Regions from separate parts of the Homo sapiens genome. Here region 2 is linked to region 1. Evidence: promoter capture Hi-C in human tissues and cell types (Jung and others, 2019). All regions are on one chromosome and are shown on one strand. Each heading gives the region's core, a stretch centred on a gene start or on the middle of the fragment in contact. The rest is flanking DNA. Distances are from core to core; before and after follow the strand shown. Region 1 holds the start of LSG1 (large 60S subunit nuclear export GTPase 1). Region 2 has its middle 44 kb from the start of XXYLT1-AS1.

Region 1 (5,451 bases), core at 2,872-5,371:
AATCCATTTTAGAATATTTTCATCACTCCAAAAAGAAAGCTTTACCCATTAGCAGTCACTGTACACCCCCAGGTACCTGGTGGAAATCATCTACTTTCTGTAGATTTGCCTCTTTAGGACTTTTTGGTGTTTCCACTTTTTGGTGATTACGAATAATGCTGCTATGAATACACATGCACATATTTTTGTGTAGACATGTTTTCATTTCTTTCGGGCATATACCCAGGAGTGGGACTGCTGGATCAGATGGTAATTCCATGTTTTACCTTTTGAGGAACTGCCAAAATTTTTTTATAAAACAGCTACACCATTTTATACTCCCACAGCGATGTATGGTGTTATAATTTCTCTACATCCTCACCAACATTTGTTATAGTCTCTTTTATTTTAGCTATCCTAGTGGGTGAAGTGGTTATTTCACTGTGAAACCCAGGAGTTTATTTTTGTCCCTTCACTCTTTTTCACTTACACTACCCTCTCCATCAAGTCTGGTTTACTCTAGCTCCTTAAGTGTTCTTGTTCCTCTTATTTTCTCCCTTCTTCTACTACCTGTATTTCAGTTCTGGCCTATTTTGCTAGACTAAAGTGATACAGTCTCCTAACTCATCTTGCTTCCTTAAAATTCATCAGTGATCTTTTAAAAAATGAAATCTCATGTACCCATGAGACATACCTGCACTCCCATGTTCCCTGCAGCGCTATTCACAAGAGCCAAGATATGGAACCAACCTCAATGCCCATCAACGTATGAATGGATAAAGAAAACGTGGTATATGTAGTATACAATGGAATACTATTCAGCATTACAAAAGAGGGAAATGTTGACACTTGTGACAATATGAATGAACCACTCTGCTATGAGAAATAACCCAGGCACAGAAAGACAAATACCACATGATCTCACTTATACGTGGAATAAAGCCGAGCTCATAGAAGCAGAGAGAAAATGGTGGTTACCAGAGATTAGGGAGTGGGGCAAATAGGAGGATACTGGTCAAACGGTAAAGTTTTACTGAGGCAGGATGAATAAGTTCTGGAGGTCTAATGTACAGCCTGGTGTCCATAGTTAATAATAACACATTTATTAGTTAATAATATGAAATTTGCTAAGACAGTATATATCTTGTTCTCACCGCACACACAAAAAAACAATGTGAGGTGATGGATACGTTAATTACTTGATTTTAGTAATCATTTCACAATATATACATATAACCAAACGTCACACTATATACTATAACTATATACAATTTTTAGTTGCCAATTGTGTAGCTCATTAAAGCTGGAACCCACACATCCCCCCAAAAAACACTAAACAATGAAATCTGAAATCATGTTGTACACGTGCTTAAAGCCCTGTAAAGCCTTAAACCTTTGTTCTCTCCAGAATCTGGCCCTTGCCCACCTCCTCAGCACCTGTGCTCATCACATCCCGCCCCCTGCACCAGCAAAGCCAAACTTCTAGCCATTTTCTGAACAAAGTTGGCTGCTGCTTCACATCTGGGCTCGAGTCCTCTGCCTGTCTGTGTAAAAGGTCTTATCTCATCTGTCCTTTGAACATCTACTCATTGTTCAAGACTCAGGGCGGGCACGGTGGCTCACACCTGTAATCCCAGCACTTTGGGAGGCCAAGGAAGGCGAATCACGAGGTCAGGAGATCAAGAACATCCTGGCCAACATGGTGAAACCCCATCTCTACTAGAAATACAAAAATTAGCCAGGCGTGGCAGTGCGTGCCTGTAGTCCTAGCTACTTGGGAGGCTGAGGCAGGTGAATTGCTTGAACCCAGGAGGCGGAGCTGCAGTGAGCTGATATCACGCCACTGCACTTCAGCCTGGGTGACAGAGCGAGACTCCATCTCAAAACAAAAAACAAAAAAAACCTCAGCCCCAGATGGAAATGTGACAGTCTCACCTGCACTCAGCAATAAACAACTTACCAGCTACAAACTCTGTTCCTGCAAGTTCTGCAGTAGCAAGGAAGTCATCAAGGGAGCTCTGTTCAGTCACTGACTGAAGATTAAGACGACCCCAATCATAGCCATCATTGAGTTCACTTGTGTGCAACTATGAAAAAACACAGGGTGATAAATACAGCTGCTCTCTTCTGCTCTTGGCATCCAATAAGCTCTAAAATTCCTTGCAACTAGTCTATGGTCTTGAGGGTGGTTGTAGTCCCTTTAGAATCAATACTACTTATAGTTAATGTTTAAAGGAACACGTTCTTACCTCACAATAGGCAGTTCCCTTTCACCATTTCATTAATTTTCAAAATCTTTTGAGGTGAATTTTACTGTATTTCCATTTTACTGATGATGAAACTAAGGCTTCAGCAGATAAAATAACTTGCCTATAGTCAAAATCTAAATGGCACAGGTAGAACTTGAACCCAGATTGTCTGACTGTGCTAGTCAAAATTAGTCAAAACTTTATTTGATATAATCCCACAATAAGAAATACATTTTACATAGTGACCCAAAGGTGTATGTACATATAATGATACAAGCATTCAAGTACCGTTCAGTACAGTAAAATGGCAATAGAAGAATACTGAAACCACACCCTATTACATGCAACATTCTGATATTTCTCTATCTTGCTGGGGAAAAAATAAAAACAAAACAAAACAGCTAGCTGCAGACCACTAAATTGACTTCCAGACACAACCCAGAGTTTGATAACCATCACCCTAAGCTATATACTTAGTATAGATACAAATAAAAAAAAATTGCCAGGCGTGGTGGTTTGTGCCTGTAACCCCAGCTCCTCAAGAGGCTAAGGCAGGAGGATTGCTTGAGGCCAGGAGTTTGTGATCAGCTTGGGCAACACAGCAAGACCCTGTCTCTCCAAAACAAACAAACAAAACCAAACAACCAGGCCTGATGGTGTGCACCTGTAATGCCAGCTACTCAAGAGACTGAGGCAGGGGGATTATTTGTGCCCAGAAGTTTGAGACTGTAGTGAATTGGTGAGTTATGATCACACCACTGGCACTCTAGCCTGGGTGACAGAGTGTGACCCTGTCTCTAAAAATGAATAACTGAATGATGAATGAATTTCCTAAATAAATATTAAGGGCCAAAAGTTTAAGTGGGCATAGAATCAGCAAAAATAAGGAATTAGGATCCAATTCTTTACCATTCATGTTCAATCTTCCCACAGTTTCCTAAAAGGCTTCATTAGTAACAAGTTGCTTCAAAGCTAATAAAAATTACCAGTAATCTAATGTCCAGAGTAACTCTGACCTGATGAATACTGATAAGCACTCCATGCTGTTTACTCTGCAGACTATATGGATGAAAGTCAGCTGGTGTGACAGTGGCACACGCTTACTTAGCTCCAGGGACATATTTAACTAAATTTAGCACACGATCTTAGCACTCAACATGTTCTCATTCATTCCCGGGGGAATGAATGGTGAAAATAACGACTAGAATGATGAACACAAGCCAAATCACTTCATTCATTTTTTTAAAGATCCTTCTATAACCTAGTAAAATATTAGGTCTTGTCACACCTGAAAAATCAATGATTTATCTTTGAGCTAAACCACTAGGGGGTGCTTCGCAAGGATGAGGCAAGGATCTGAATTATTTTATATTTCTGGCAGTAACCAACCGCTTCTGGAGGATCCATTCTTTGAACAAATCAATACAAAAATACGTTTTGTCTTTTTCCTGCTCTGGAAGTTCCAAGCACTTCAGTGGCTTCTAGGGCAAAACCCAAACGTACTCAAGACCTGGCATTGAAGACTCTTCAGATTCTCACTCCACGCCTCATCACCACACTAACTCTTCTTTCAAGCTTCTCCTACCTTTGTGTTCTGGGCCTTGCCAGGAGGAGGGCCTGCTACTCAGCTTGGCAGAAACTCCAACTCATCCTTCAAAACCCGGCTGAGGCGTCCCTCCTGCAAAACTTATCTGACTTTTGACCCCGAATTTTGCAGCACTCAGGCTAGACAGAAAAGATAAGAAAGATGACATGGTCTGTCTTACCCAGGAGTCAGTGTGACGATGGCTTCGGCTCCGCTGAGTCTGATGGCGCATAAGGGCCCGTCCCAGCGACCCACCGGCCGGGGCTCTCCTCCGGCCCATGGCAACACGACCGCTGGACGAAGCTTCCCGGCTCGGCGCGTGCAGTTTCCGGGATTCACAGTTCGATCCCCGGAAGTGACGATAAGCGAGCCCAAGTAGTTCAGGCTCAAACTTGAGAGGGGAAAGCAGAATGACTTGTTCTCAAGTTCTCCTTTTACGTCTCGATTTTACCAGTATTATAGAATATAAGTGAAAAAATGGTTCTGGGAAATTTTCGATAGATTTCCTGGCGAATGTCTCGAGTTTGGATAAATGACTGAGTTAAAAGAATGGTCCATTCTTAATTTGTGCGTCGGTCTTTAGCGTCCGGCGAGAAACTAGAGCACGTCGGAAACATGGCGGTTCCTATTCGCGGCACTAGCTCCGCCTTCCGCTGCTTCCGTCAGGAGGACGCGGAGACTCGGAGGAAGAGTGTTTCGGTGGCGCTGGGACGGGGGCGTTTCCCAGCGCTGGTTTTCTGCTGGCGTCCCGAGGTGTGGTCTCTCCGAGGTCCAGCACAGCAACTAACTTTTTGTTTATCTAGCCGACCCCAGCTGCGAACTGGGGAGAAAAGTCTTCGCCTGGATGTGAATTTGGAATGAGAGGCTGAATAGTATTTCCAGAGCTTGGCAAGGTTGTAGGAAAAGCCAACAGGAAGTGACTTACGCTTTATTTCAAAGAAAAAAAAAATGTTTAAACAGTTCTAATTATATTTTCATTACCCTTTTTAAAAATAATTAAAATGAAAGTGAAAACAGTGAGCCAGCTCCACTCCTAGAGGCCTGGGCTTTTGTTCCTCACTTGAATGTTTGATTTCCCTATAATGGGAATAATAGAAAGTCAGCTTAGAGTGGCTGGTGAACTACATTCTCATTGATCCAGAGAACCATCTCTTTGTTTTGATGCTTGGAGAGAGGAAGCAGCTTGAGCAAGTCGTAGATTGAGTGCGTGCAGTGTCAGGAATAAACCCAAGTCTTGTCACTAGCCTGTACACCCCTGGGGAGAGTGGGGAATGAGGGTTGTTAACATGTATTATTTATTTATTTTTATCTTTTGAGACAGAGTCTCGCTGTCCCCCAGGTGGAGTGCAAAGGCATGATCTCGGCTCACTGCAACCTCTGCTTCCCGGGTTCAAGTGATTCTCCTGCCTTAGCCTCCCGAGTAGCGGGAATTACAGACACGTGCCACCGCACCCAGCTAATTTTTGTATTTTTAGTAGAGACAGGGTTTGACTATTTTGGCCAGGCTGGTCTCGAACTCCTGACCTCAGGTGATCGCCCGCCTCGGCCTCCCAAAGTGCTAGGATTACAGGTATGAGCCACTGCGCCTGGCCAAACATGTATTTTTAAATCATAGGATCGAGGTAATGCATATATTAC
Region 2 (6,138 bases), core at 1-2,500, 380 kb after region 1:
TGGATCGCTGCAACTTCTGCCTCCCGGGTCGGAGCGATTCTCCTGCCTCAGCCTCCCGAGTAGCTGGGACTACAGGCACGCACCACCATGCCCAGCTAATTTTTGTATTTTTTGTAGAGACGGGGTTTCACCGTGTTGGCCAGGATGGTCTCGATCTCCACCTCGTGATCCACCCACCTTGGCCTCTCAAAGTGCAGGGATTACAGGTATGAGCCTCCATGCCTGGCCACTCCCTCCATCTTTACATGGTCCATCTCTCTCCTCCAAGGCACTCCTCACATGGAGGACGTTTCTGTCTTACAGTCCATAAAACCAGAACAGATGAGAGAGTTGAAAGGGACCTCGATTCTGAGATACTCCAGAACAGCAATTGTCTCAAAAGGTTTCTGTGGATAAATACATTTGGGACATGCTAGGTTAAAAATAAACATGGCCCTCTCCTGCAGGACTGATCAGAGCCTTTAATGCACTGAGGAGCACTAAGAATCCCCAAGAAGGGGATCCAGTGTGAATGGAGTGTTTCTTAAACATTTGCCCAAGAAACTTTTTTGACCACAGAGTAAGTATCCTTTAACATGGGGATACTGATCTAAGCTCATAATTATTTTATAGATGGGAAATTGAGGCCCAGAGTGGCGAATTAATATACTCAGAGTCACACAGGGTATCAGAAGCAGAGCTGGGGCTGGAACCCAACCTCCTCCCTTTCAAGGGTCCTAGAAAATGGTGTTAGTTGTTTTCCAACAGCTGCTTGGACAAGAGGCGGCAGATACAAATGAGTCCATGGTGCCTCGTCTTGCTGCTCCCGTGGAAGGAGGTCGCACACACCACCCCACTGCCATTCTCACCTCTCTCACTCCTGATAGTGCCGGTCCCTCTGCATCCTGTTGCACTGCTCTCTGCCTCCGTTTCTTACCAGCACCTTCTGTATGGCCAGAGCTGTATGCCCAGCTCCTCCCTCAGCCTAGCTGCCGGCAGAGCTCCATGAATATGAGGAAACGCGAGTCAGTGGAGAAGGAGCCCCATCAGCCTGCAGCACTGGGGCTGGGGGTGAAAACAGAAGCAGGCAGGGGACAGCTTGGCACCAAAGCCACCTGCAGACACGAAGAGAATAAAGGTGTCCCTTTCCTCTGCAGGGAATGCTTTACTTATTCCAGCAACATTTAGGTGGATATGTTGCCCCACTTCTCAAAGCAAGCTGTCCACTTCCTATACTTAGGCAAGAGTGAGCAGACTGATACTGGGTTTCAGCTAAGAATAGGCCTTTGGCTGACCATCTAAAGTCAGGCCATCCTCGTGCTGCTCTGCTGTTTCATGCACTGGGGACATGGTCTTTAGGGTCCAGTGACTGTCAGAAAGGGAAGCAGCCTCCAGCCATACAATCAATCCATCGCCCATCCGTCCAGTCATCCGATCAACCAACCAGACACCAAACAGCTTCCTATCCACTCACCTGTACGTTCAAGGGAAACAGGCAAAGGATTGCATCAGCAGTGATATGCTGATTAACCACTTGCTCTCCGGAACAAAAAGCCCTGGCTTGTGCCATTTGCCAATTTCCATGGTGTTACTATTCCCACAATTTTAAGTTACCAACGTGATGTCACTGATGTGGAACTGGGAAAAGATGGATAGTAGCACACTCTCATATAGTATTTCTACCATACACATACAGATAACCTCAAGGGCATAGATTATAGTAAAATGTAGGATGATAATTAATAATTGATGTATTTTGAATATTGACTACCTTTGTTTTTAGGATCTAATTGATGGTTTATCTAATTTAATTATTTATTTATTTTTGAGATGGAGTCTTGCTCTGTTGCCCAGGCTGGAGTGCAGTGGCACAATCTTGGCTCACTGCAAGCTCTGCCTCCCGGGCTCAAGTGACTCTCCTGCCTCAGCCTCCTGAGTAGCTGGGACTACAGGCACCTGCCACCATGCCCGGCTAATTTTTGTATTTTTGGTAGAGACAGGGTTTCACCATATTGGCCAGGCTGGTCTCGAACTCCTGACCTTGTGATCCGCCCACCTTGACCTCCCAAAGTGCTGGGATTACAGGCATAAGCCACCGCGCCCAGCCAATTTAATTTTTAATAATGGTTGTTTTGAACAACTGGATCACAAAATTCTTGAAAAATTAATAATCAGCTTTCCCAATATGAGGTGGCTCCAGCTCAAGGTAGATTTGGAACACAAAGGAAAAAGTTCTTCTATACTGGAAGCAGGAGTTGAAAGGCGATCACAGTGAAATAATGACAGTCAACTCCTGTAAGTCTATACTAGGGAAGGAGACCAGTCTGACTTAGCTATGTCTGAAGCACACAGTTTAAAACGATCTTTAATTCTTAAAAAAAAAAAAAAAAGCTTTTATTTGAGGTTCAGGGGAACATGTGCAAGTTTGTTATATAGACTCATGTCATGGGGGTTTGCTGTACAGATTATTTCATCACGTAGGCACTAAGCCTAGTATCAAGCACTTAGCTTTTTTGCTCCTCTCTTCCTCCCACCCTCCACCCTCAGGTAGACCCCAGTGTCTCGTTCCCTTCTTTGCGTCCATGTGTTCTCATCATTTATCTCCCACTTGTGAGAACATGGGGTATTTGGTTTTCTGTTCCTGCATGAGTTTGTTAAGGATAATGGCCTCCAGCTCCATCCATGTTTCCTCAAAAGACATGTCTCCTTCTGTTTTTTTTTTTGGCTGCATAGTATTCCATGGTGTGTATGTACCACGTTTTCTTTATCCAATCTGTCACTGATGGGCATTTAGGCTGGTTCTATGTCTTTGCTATTGTGAGTAGTGCTGCAATGAACAGTCAGGGCCATGCGTCTTTATAATACAATGATCTCTGTTCCTCTAGGTATATACCCAGTAATGGGATTGCTGGGTCGAATGGGAGTTCTGCTTTTAGCTCTTTGAGGAATCGTCACACTGCTTTCCACAATGGTTGAATTAATTTACACTCCCATCAACAATGTATAAAAAAAAAGTCTTCTTTTCTCCACAACCTTGCCAGTATCTGTTCTTTTTTGACTTTTTAATAATAGTCATTCTGACTGGTACGATTTGCATTTCTCTAATGATCAGTGATGTTGAGCTTTTTTTCAAGTGCTGTTTGGCCCCGTGTATGTCTTCTTTTGAAAAGTGTCTGTTCATGTCCTTTGCCACTTTTTTGTTTGTGTTTTTCTTATAAATTCGTTTAAGTTCCTTATAGATGCTGGATATTAGACCTTTGTCAGATGCATAGTTTGCAAACATTTTCTTTCATTCTGTAAACTGTTTACTCTGTTGATAGTTTCTTTTGCTGTGCAGAAGCTCTTAAATTTAACTAGATCCCTTTTGTCAATTTTTGTTTTGTTGCGATTGCTTTTGGCATCTTCGCCATGAAATCTTTGCCTGTTCCTATGTCCAGGATGGTATTGCCTCGGTTGTCTTCTAGGGTTTTTATAGTTTTGGGTTTTATATTTAAGTCGTTAGTCCATCTTGAGCTGATTTTTGTATGTGATGTAAGGGAGGGGTCTATTTTCAGTCTTCTGCATATGGCTAGCCAGTTATCCCAGTACCATTTATTGAATAGGGAGTTCTTTTCCCATTGCTTGTTTTTGTCAGCTTTGCTGAAGATCAGATGGTTGTAAATGTGTGGCCATATTTCTGGGCTCTCTGTTCTATTCCATTGGTCTGTGTCTGTTTTCGTGCCAGTAGTATGCTGTTTTGGTGAAGTATAGTTTGTAGTATAGCCGTGTAGTATAGTTTGAAGTTGGGTAATGTGATGTCTCCAGCTTTGTTCTTTTTGCTTAGGATTGCCTTGGCTATTCGGGCTCTTTTTTTGGTTCCATATGAATTTTAAAATACTTTTTTCTAGTTCTGTGAAGAATGTTGTTGGTAGTTTGATAAGAATAGCATTGAATCTATAAATTGCTTTGGGCAGTATGGCCATTTTAATGACATTGGTTCTTCTTAGTCATGAACATAAAATGTGTTTCCATTTGTTTGTGTCATCTCTGATTTCTTTGAGCAGTGTTTTGTAATTGATTTCTTTGAGCAGTGTTTTGTAATTCTCATTGTAGAGATCTTTCACCTCTCTGGTTGGCTATATTCCTAGGTATTTTATTCTTTTTGTGGCAATTGTGAATGGGATTGCCTTTCTGACTTGGCTCTCAGCTTGGCTGTTGTTGGTGTATAGGAATGCTCGTAATTTTCGTACATTCATTTTTTATCCTGAAACTTTGCTGACGTTGTTTACCAGTGGAATGAGCTTTTGGGCTGCGAGTATAAGGTTTTCTAGATGTAGAATCATGTCATCTGCAAACAGGGTTGGTTTGACTTCCCCTCTTCCTATTTGGATGCCCTTTATTTCTTTCTCCTGCCTGATTGCCCTGGTCAGGACTTTCAATATGTTGAATAGGAGTGGTGGGAGAGGGCATCCTTGTCTTCTGCAGGTTTTCGAGGGAAATGCTTCCAGCTTTTCCCTGTTCAGTATGGTGTTGGCTGTGGGTTTGTCACATAGATGGCTCTTATTATTTTGAGGTACATTCCTTCAATACCTAGTTTATTGTGAGTTTTTGACATGAAGGGATGTTGACTTTTCTGAAAGCCTTTTCTACATCTGTGGAGGTAATCATGTAGATTATCTTCAGTTCACGACATATTTAATTCCATTGCATTCATGTATCCTGAATAATTTCAGTCCTATTTTGCTTTCCAGGGTCAACAGTATTCAGTTAAGCACCACTTTCTTCTTGAGCAACTTTCTTCTCTCGGTTCTTCTGGCCCCTTCACTTTGTTGTTCCCCTGTTACTTCAATCTCCTTTGCTAATTCCTCCTCCTTTTCAGCTCAGTGTGTGAATGTTGGAGTGTTCGGAGTTTGGTCCTGGGCCCTCTTCTCACTATTTACACTCTCTTCTTAAGGATTTCAATTAGTCCAGAGGCTCTAAATATCATGTATCAGTGCTTTCTTATTTTTTGTCTAAGCGTCACATAGAAATAATTTTTTAAAAACCCAAACAGTGCTAAAAAGCTTATTTTTAAAAAGCAGGAGTATCTTATCTATCTTCCCCACACCTCTTCAGAAACAATCTCTTTTCATTTGTTTCCTTCCAGGATTTACCTATTTATCTCCATATTTCTAAACAGCATGCATATCTTGCTAGCCTTTTTACAATCAATTTTATATAAATGTGTGTGTGTGTGTGTAATTTTTTTTTTTTTTTGAGATGGAGTCTCGCTCTGTCGCCCAGGCTGGAGTGCAGTGGCACAGTCTCGGCTCACTGCAGCCTCTGCCTCCCAGGTTCAATCGATTCTCTGCCTCAGCCTCCCGAGTACCTGGGATTACAGGCACGTACCACCATGCCCGGACAATTTTTGTATTTTTAGTAGAGACTGGGTTTTGCCATGTTGGCCAGGCAGGTCTCGAACTCCTGGCCTTAACTGATCCACCTGCCTCAGCCTCCCAAGGTGCTGGGATTACAGGTGTGAGCTACCATGCCCAGCCTCGATTTAATATATTATCTGTTAACTTCTTATTATAGTAAATAATGATTTGAGATATTTTACATCATCTATTTCCCTCTTTGCACTTCAAGTTTTAAAAAAAAATCTGTAGTAGTATTTCACTGATAGGATTAAGTTAATATTTTCATTGATGGGCCCAGCAAATGCATATTCTTTCTTTAAACCTTTTTTTCTGGAGTCAATAATTTTTATTTGCTTACTTTTTGTTGTTGTGGTTATTGCTGTTTTACTCTCTGGCTAGCTCTCCCTGCACCCTCTAAGGCCTGTCAGTTATTCGCATGGTCAAGTATGTCACTACTTTGTCAGTTCCACTTCCCTCCAAACCCCTCCCACCTCCCGCTCCCACCTCCCACTCCCATCTGCACTGCCGCTCTCCCAGCCTGCTGCACAGCCGAGCATCCCCTTCAATTCCTGGCTCCATTAGCCCCCTGCTTCCTGGATCTTGTGCATTCTTTTTTCTTGGTTTACTTCCTTGCAATGGTGACGCTTTCCTCCTGAAGCTTTCCGAGAAAGGAGGCAAATGTTCTAAGAGTTTGTGTGCTGTGTCTTCATTCTTATCTCACACTTGACTGGAGTTTCTAGGATTTTCTTTTTGTCTGATATTCTTAAATTTCACATTGATT

What was found. Contacts are between HindIII fragments. The study calls those that stand out against the background at their distance.
Region 2: a contact is called between a fragment that was not itself captured here and the fragment with the promoter of LSG1 in region 1, in 1 of the 25 tissues and cell types used here (lymphoblastoid cells).

Annotation. Positions count from the first base shown.
Region 1 is chr3:194,668,070-194,673,520 of GRCh38, forward strand. It overlaps LSG1 (large 60S subunit nuclear export GTPase 1), which reads right to left and starts at 4,122. Exons shown (of 14, transcript NM_018385.3): 1 at 3,995-4,122; 2 at 1,940-2,066. The coding sequence starts at 4,093. The HindIII fragment of the contact is 4,871 bases long and covers 3,960-5,451 here.
Region 2 is chr3:195,047,271-195,053,408 of GRCh38, forward strand. No RefSeq gene overlaps it. Among named protein-coding and RNA genes, the nearest start is that of XXYLT1-AS1, 44 kb to the right of the region's middle. The HindIII fragment of the contact is 4,889 bases long and covers 1-3,695 here.